2 separate regions of the Homo sapiens genome follow, and region 2 is linked to region 1. Evidence: promoter capture Hi-C in 16 types of primary human blood cells and fetal thymus (Javierre and others, 2016). All regions are on one chromosome and are shown on one strand. The core of a region is centred on a gene start or on the middle of the fragment in contact, and the rest is flanking DNA. Distances in the headings are between cores, read along the strand shown.

Region 1 (3,865 bases), core at 565-3,064:
GGTTCGAATTTCATCCGGGGGCGTCCCCGCTGAGGGCTTCCGAGCAGCAGAGTGCAGGAGGAAGAAAGCCTGCTGGGAGTGACTCAGGGAGAGTGACCAGGGAGAGAGCCTGGTGGCTGGGTGGGGGTGAGGATTGAAGAGGAGGAATGGTTGAGGGGCACAGAATGAGCGACCGTGTCCCAAGTCCTCCTTTGAGGGGCACAGCACACGGCAGCTGACAGCGTGTGGCAGACAGAGGGCCAGGCAGAGCGGCGGCAGAGGGGCCGGCACCGCCCCAGCCCCAGAGTCCAGCTCCCGACACACAGGGAGACGGGGGCCAGGGCCTGGGAGCCAGGCTGGGGACGACCTCACCCTGTGTGTCACCAGGAGGGGCGGCACCATCGGGCTCTCCTGCTCCCCGTCCCCTTCCATACCCTGAGGACCAGCCGCATCAAGGGGCTTTGAGCAAAAGCAGGCGTCCTGGGAAAATGACAAGCTCAAACTGGCCTCAAGAACTTTTCACTTCAGGGTTCTTTCAGATAAAGTACTTTATGCATTAACAAATCTCCATCTTCCCGGAAATCTATTCTCACAATTGGAAGCGTGCTCCCTACAAACCGGACAGCCCCATAGGCCCCGAAACAGTGCTTGCTTCTAGGAATTATTCTAGAGTCAAAAGTAAGGTCCTCTTGAGAGTGGATCTCAGGTAACTGTAAGCCCAGCTGGCAGCCAGGTAGCCGGAAAAGCCAGGCTGAGCCAGCACATCCCCGGTGCAGCTTCCTGCAGCGAGCGGCCCCCTCCCCACGACGCCCCCGGGTCTCCCCTCACCACTGTCCCATCGCAGGATCTCAGCAAACCGTTCCCTCCCACGTGGCAGCCCAGGTTGCATAAAGTTGATTCGGGTCAGACCAGCCCCGAGAAAGCATCCCTTACAACAGGAGCGAAGCATGCACCCCAGAAGGCAACGTGCGGCCGCAGAGCAGGGAGACCCGTGCGCCTACAGGGGACCCTACAGGGGACCCGCACCGCCCGCGCGCCCTGTCCCGGGCACCACCAGGCCCCGCACACGAGGCTCACCCAGAGCCGCGGTGCCCTCCCGCCCGCGGGCCGCGTCCAGGCAAAGCCGCTCCGGAGTCCCCGGGCTGCGCGCAGGGCCTGCCAAGGCGGGCGGGGCCCGGACCAGGGACGAGCGCGGGGACCGGCGATGCGGGTCCAGCCTCCCGCGGGAGCCGAGGTCGGGGCTCTGGGAGGCAGAGAAAGGGTTGTGGGCCCGGTTCAGGGTGCAGGGGTCTGGGGGGAGGAGCAGAACGCGGGGCGGGGATGGGAAGCGGGGACCCCGAGGAAGGCGCTGAGGGACCAGGATGCGCGTGCGGGCGGCGGGAAGCCGGCGCCGAGACCGAGGCATCGGGTGCGGGCGGCGGGGACGCGAACTGAGGGGCGGCCGCGGGGAGGGAAGGCGCCGCGGCTCGCAGGGCCGCGCCGCGCCCCAGGCCCCCTCCCCGGCCCCTCCTCGGCCGCGCCTCCCTGGCCCCAGCATCCCTGGCGTCCGCGCCGGCTCCCGGGGCCGCGCGCCCTGGGCACCCACCTGGGCCTTCTGCAGGGCGCTGAGGCGCAGCTCGTGCACGAAGGGGTTCCGCCCCGGGGGCGCCAGCAGCCGAGCGTCGCTGGCCCCTGCGCTGGAGGCAGGGGCGGCCCGGGGTCCGCATCCCCGCAGCCTCATGGCCGCGCCGTCCCGCGGCGAGCGCAGCCGAGCTGCCTGGGGCGCCGAGCGGGGCCGGGGCTAGCTGGGCGCGGGTCTCGGGGCGCGGGCCGAGGATGCGCGGCGGCTGGAGCGGGCCGGGCGCGCAGGCGCGGGAGGTGACGTGGGCGGAGCGGGAGCGCCGGCCGGGGCGGGGCGTCCCTGGAAGCCTCGCCTCCCGCCGGCCGGCAGGGGCGGCACCAGCCGGAGTTCCGCTACCTGGTGGTTTCTCTGGGGTCTGTGGGGGGCCGGGGCCGCTGGGGACCGGGGGCGCCTCCTGCAGCCACTGGAGCACAGGGATCCCCGGCAGGGTCTGCGCCAGGAGAAAGGGAGGTCCCCCGGGCCCGCGAGGCTGCCACGTCGTCCCCTTCCGCCGCTCGGCCCGCCTGCTCGCGGGGAGGGAGGAAGGGGCGGGCACGCGTCCAGCTTACGCGCAAGGCGGGCCAGGCCCTGGGTGCCGAGCCCCGGGCTGTTCCGGCGAAGGCCCCACGCCATTCTTCTTATTCGTTGGGCTCCTAGCTCGCACCGGCGACCCTGGAAGCTGCCCCGGGCTGAGGGAGCTTCTTCCAGCCGCGCCTCAGCCCAGGCGACTCCCGCCTGAGGTCCACTCGACCTTAGGACCCCCCAGACCTCGGGATCCCCTCAGATCTCAGGACCCCTCAAGCCTCAGGACCCCCTCAGACCTCAGGACCCCTCCGATCTCAGGACCTCTCAGGCCTCAGGCCCCGCAGGGATGGCCCAGGCAGGAGGCGCACATAGGGGCCCTGACTGTCCGTGCTGGTTGTGCAGGGGCTGCGATGAGATCCCAGCGCTTTCTCACCCGTAGCTGCTTTGGCTCGGGCATTGCCCTTGTGGTGCTCAGGAGCCGTGTGAGGAGCCCCAGGGTGGGGCCCATAATTAGCCGGAGCGAGAGTAGGATGGGCTCCTGCCTCCGGGTGAACACGCTTGGATTTCAGAACTCACGCAGGCCTTCGGTCACAGTGCTCACGGCTTCCTCACCCCGGCTGGCCCTGTTGGTTCCTTCATGGCCAACGGACCTCACCCAGACAGAGCCGGTTTGGGCCACCTGGCCAACCCCCCAGGGTCCTGGCTCCTGGGGATGTCACTGCTGTGTTGGCCCCAGCTGGGCCCCATCCTCAGCAGACGCCAGGGAGTGCCCCGACCCCTCCAATGACCCTGCCTGCGCCCTTGTGGACCTCATAGTGCAGCGGGCTGGCAGAGACCCTTCTGTGTCTGAGACCGGGGTGAGGGCCAGGGGTCTGTGCCATCCACATATCATGCACAGAGAAGGCCCCGGCAGGCCAGACCCGCTGCATGGCCTTATTCCTGCCCCATAAGAGTCCCAGCCCATATTCCTGCCCCATAAGAGTCCCAGCCCATGCCTAGCAGCAGCACCTGTCCCAAGTGCCACACCCACGGGGATGGGGTGAGCCCTGTGTGCTGGTGGGCATTGGTGGCTCTGTGGCCCAGCCACCAGCGTTGCACCCACCTCCTGGGCTTTTAGTGGCCACTTGCTCTGATCCCCAAAACCAGAGCCCAGCACCCGAGGCCACCCAAGGCTCCTCACCGAACTGATCATCAAGAAAGCCCAGGACACAAAGCCTGCCAGCCACAGGGCAGCACCTGCACCCCAGCGATCCAGGCGGCCCCACCTGCTGCCTGAGTGCTCTGGAGAGGAGGGGCCCTAGGGTGTCCCAGTCCTGGGATGAGAGCAGCCTCAGGACTGGACTTGGAGAGCCATGAAAGTGGGGTCCTCCCAGAAGCACAGGCCAGGAAGCGGTGTGTGGCGGAGGGGAAACCTGCTGGAGATGGTGCAGAGCCAGATTCAATGGGGAGAGCTGCCAGAGAGTCATGGCTGTGTCCCCAGAAGATGCAAAAGTCCTAACCCACAGCACCTGTGGCCGCGACCTTATTTGGAAACAGGGTCTTTGCAGATGATCAGGTTAAGAGGAAGTCATTAGGGTGGGCCCTAGTCTGAAATGGCTTGTGTCCCTATAGAGAGGGAGATTCGGTCTCAGAGACAGACACAGAGAGAGCTCCATGGGAAGGCCAGGGTTCTGCTGCTACAGGCAAGCAGTTCCCAGGAGCTGGAGAGGCCTGGAGCAGGTCCTCTCTAGTGCTCTCAGAGGGAGCCTAGGCCTAGGGTGC
Region 2 (3,865 bases), core at 245-2,744, 1.1 Mb before region 1:
CAAGCACAGGTGTCCCTCCCAGGCACAAGTGTACTTCCTGGTGCAGGTGTCCTCTTGACGGTGTCCCCCCCCAGGCGCAGTTGTCCTTCCTGGCACAGGTGTCCCCCCTCGGACCAGGTGTCCCTCGTCGGAGCAGGTGTCCTTCTGGGCACAAGCGTCCTTCCTGGCCTTTAGGAAGCTTTCAAGGTGCAGGTGTCCTCCAAGGTGCAGGTGTCCTCCAGCGGAGTGTCCCCTCCGTGAGGTGCCTCCCAGCACAGGTGTTCCCCTCGGCGCAGGCGTCCCCCCGGTAAAGGGTCCCTCCTGGCAGAGGTGTCTGCCCGGCAGAGGTGTCTCCCTGGCGCAGGTGTCTCCGTGGGTGCTGATGTTCCCCGCAGTAGGGTGTCCCCCCGCTCGGCGGAGAGGCTCACAGCGGAGCCAGCGCCAGGGGAAGGCAGTCAGAAAGGCCCTGGTAGGGGCTGGACCTGGGTCTCTGTTTATGGTCTCTGAGTTCCTCTTTGGCTTCTGTGACCCAAAATCTTTAGTCTTCAGGCTGGGATGGAAGCCTCTGCGGTGCGTTTTTTAACTCCAGATTTTCCCCTTTTCCACATGAGTAGCTTTATTCTGACTCCAAGGCGAGCCCTGCTTCACAGCTCTCCACTCACATTGCCTTGGCTTCCACCCACAGCGTGACAGACTTCACTCCAGCCTTAAGATGGGCGCAGCCACCTCACCGCGTGCCCCAGCAGAGCGGCTGGGGGTCCACTTCTTGGGTTATTATCCAGCCCTATAATCAAAATCATACAGGCTTTAATGTCAATGGAAATGCTGATGATAATGTCCAAACAAAATAAGAAAACAAAAGTGTGCACCTACAAAGTCATATAAGCAGTGGAATCTTAGCTTTAAAAGAAACTCAAAGGGAAAAAACTGGAAGGAAACAAGCCCTGTTGGAGGGAGTTGCCCCTGAGTGTCGGGATTTAAGGGGAGTTGTCCCTGGGTGGCGGGATTTAAGGGGAGTTGCCCCTGAGTGGTGGGATATAGCGGGGGTTACCCCTGAGTGGTGGGATTTACGGGAAGTTGTCCCTGGATTGTGAGATTTAAGGGAAGTTGCCCCTGGGTAGCAAGATTTAAGAGGAGTTGCCCATAGATGATGGGATTTAAGGGGAGTTGCCTCTGGCATCTTTGTATTTTTGTCCTGTCCAGATTTTCTACGTTGGTATGCCAAATTTCATAATCAGAAAATAAAGAGAAAGGAAAGGTTGCAATGTAGGTCCAGATGAAAAAGGAGAAGAGAGGTGTCTGAAAGCATGTGGGCATGGAGAATGAAAAATTCCAGGAGAAGGTGAATCTTTTTAATATTCATGAAGATGAAAATCAGACAGCTGAAGTCAAGGGGAACAGGTGTATCGGATTCCCTCATTGACTGATGCTCACCAAGCAGCTGTGTTAGCTCCCCGAGGAGGACGATGGTGGAGGGAGCATGGAAGGCAGGCTTGCCTGGCATCTGAGCACCTGTGGTCTGCACGGGGCCTGCATAAAGGAGGGAAGCATGATGTTTTCTAGGACAGTTAAAAAAGGGGGAAATGGGGTTTTGGATACCCAAGACAATAATGACTTTTTCTTTTTTTTTCTTTTTTTTTTTTTTGAGACGGAGTCTCGCTCTGTCGCCCAGGCTGGAGTGCAGTGGCGCGATCTCGGCTGACTGCAAGCTCCGCCTCCGGGGTTCACGCCAGTCTCCTGCCTCAGCCTCCCGAGTAGCTGGGACTACAGGCACCCACCAACATGCCCAGCTAATTTTTTTGTGTGTATTTTTAGTAGATACAGGGTTTCACCATGTTAGCCAGGATGGTCTCGATCTCCTGACCTCGTGATCCACCCGCCTCGGCCTGCCAAAGTGCTGGGATTACAGGCGTGAGCCACCGGGCCTGGCTGACTATTGTCACTTTTATAGGGTGGGAATTGTGGGGCTTGTGCTGGGCCTCCAGCTGTGGTACCTGGTCGGGGGAGTTGTCCACGCTGTATTTGTCTTCACTGAGGGTCCTGGTGCAGCTGCCCACAGGCCTGGCCAAGGTGCTGGGGGAAAGCTCCCGAAATGAGAAACCAGCCCTGTCTTGGGGAGAGATGTGCCTTTGAGGCTGACATCTACATGCTGGGTGGTCTGGGACCCACATCTAGAATCTTCGCAATGTCCATGTCTCTCATGCCTGTGAAACGCCCCTGCTCTCCCCTTAAAGGTATAACTTCTGCATGTTTGTGTTACGAAGGTTTGTTTATCTTATCAAGGAGTTCCTCATCCTAGTTCAGCTTTCTTTGAGGTTTCCTGGATTAATGATCTCAGAGGCTCTGCTTGTAGCTCCACTGTGATCACCTGATAGTTTGGGGGAGGTTTTGTACCTAACATTTCTACCGTCCTAACAACTCCTGCAGTGCACAGAGAACACCCCTAGCATGAACAGTGTGAGGATTCCACCAGCTTTTTCACCATGAAGGAGACAGACCGGGAGGCCGTTGCGACAGCAGTGCAAAGGGTTGCTGGGATGCTCCAGCGCCCGGACCAGCTGGACAAGGTGGAGCAGTATCGCAGGAGAGAAGCGCGGAAGAAGGCCTCCGTGGAGGCCAGATTGAAGGTGAGGCCACCTGCCCCACTCCCAGGATCTGTCTTGGGCTTCAGGTTCTTGCTTGACATCACCATGATGATTTTGCTAAACTAGCCTTTATGGTAATGTGCAAGGAGGCAGAGCTGGACTTTCTTGAGCAGTTACTTTCAGCAGTGTATTACCACTCAGTAGCTTTGCTTAGAAGACAGTGGGAATGGTGAAAACACCAAAGGAACAAGCTTTTAAACACCCTGAGGCCGGGTGCGGTGACTCATGCCTGTAATCCCAGCACCTCGGGGAGGCCGAGGCAGGCGGATCACCTGAGGTCAGGAGTTCAAGACCAGCCTGGTCAACATGGTGAAACCCTGTCTCTATGAAAATACAAAAATTAGCCAGGCATGATGGTTGACGCCTGTAATCCCAGCTACTTGGGAGGCTGAGGCAAGAGAATCGCTTGAACCCAGGAGGCAGAGGTTGCGGTGAGCCGAGATGGTGCCATTGCATTCCAGCCTGGGCAACAGAGTGAGACTCTGTCTCAAAAAGAAAAAAAAAACACAGAAACAAAAACAACACCCTGAAAGTGTCTATTAAGTTTTTAAACAATACTGGAGGAAGGAGAAGTAGTCTTATTTAAAGCTCTTCTACAGAGCACCACTAGAGGGCATTTTGTTCAGATTGTTTTAACTCACATTTGACAGAGAGCGGATCTGAAGCTCAGGTGCCGATTCTGTCCTGTGGGTCAGCCGTCCTGGGGCCAAGTGTGGTGCTGGCTGAACAGCAGGAACTCCCCCACCCCAAGCCAGTGAAGTCCTGACCGTTCTCTCTGCCTAGACAAGACCTTTTAGGAACCTAGGATGCCTGGGAGAGCATGGGTGACATCCTTCTGAAGGTACCGTAGCAGGCCACGGCCCAGGGCAGACCCGTGGTAGTGTCCAGGATCACCAGGTGTGAGGCTAGATGAGGAGTGTCCTGACCTTTTCTCATCAAGGCTTTAAAATGCATCATTGTTCTGTTCCCAGGCAGCAATGAAGAAAAAGGTACACTGTGAATCAATTAAATCCTTGTTGATTTTATTTTCTTTTCTGGGTATTGACTGTTTCCTGCTACTCAGTGGCTCTTTCCTGAACTTGACCCTCCTGGGGAAGATTTGTTCTTCAGGAGGCAGCGCATGGCTATCATTGGCTCTGCTCACCCGTGTGGCGTCTCTCTTTAGGCCGCCATCCAGTCACAGTTGGACGGGGTGCGCACAGGCCTCAGCCAGCTCCACAACGCCCTGAATGACGTCAAAG

The links. Contacts are between HindIII fragments. The CHiCAGO score rates a contact against its expected background, and 5 or more counts as called.
Region 2: a contact is called between a fragment that was not itself captured here and the fragment with the promoter of LPCAT1 in region 1, in 1 of 17 cell types (neutrophils). The highest score is 5.9, in neutrophils.

The regions. Positions count from the first base shown.
Region 1 is chr5:1,522,146-1,526,010 of GRCh38, forward strand. LPCAT1 (lysophosphatidylcholine acyltransferase 1) reads right to left here and starts at 1,815. Exons shown (of 14, transcript NM_024830.5): 1 at 1,565-1,815. The coding sequence starts at 1,699. RefSeq lists silencers at 1,003-1,202, 1,473-1,782, 1,803-2,202 and a cis regulatory region at 2,972-3,207. The HindIII fragment of the contact is 5,602 bases long and covers 1-3,865 here.
Region 2 is chr5:443,744-447,608 of GRCh38, forward strand. It overlaps EXOC3 (exocyst complex component 3), which reads left to right. Exons shown (of 13, transcript NM_007277.5): 2 at 2,407-2,606; 3 at 3,790-3,865. The coding sequence starts at 2,463. It overlaps LOC124900930 (a long non-coding RNA gene), which reads left to right and starts at 3,078. Exons shown (of 2, transcript XR_007058671.1): 1 at 3,078-3,465; 2 at 3,596-3,649. RefSeq lists enhancers at 8-97, 3,279-3,358. The HindIII fragment of the contact is 2,637 bases long and covers 177-2,813 here.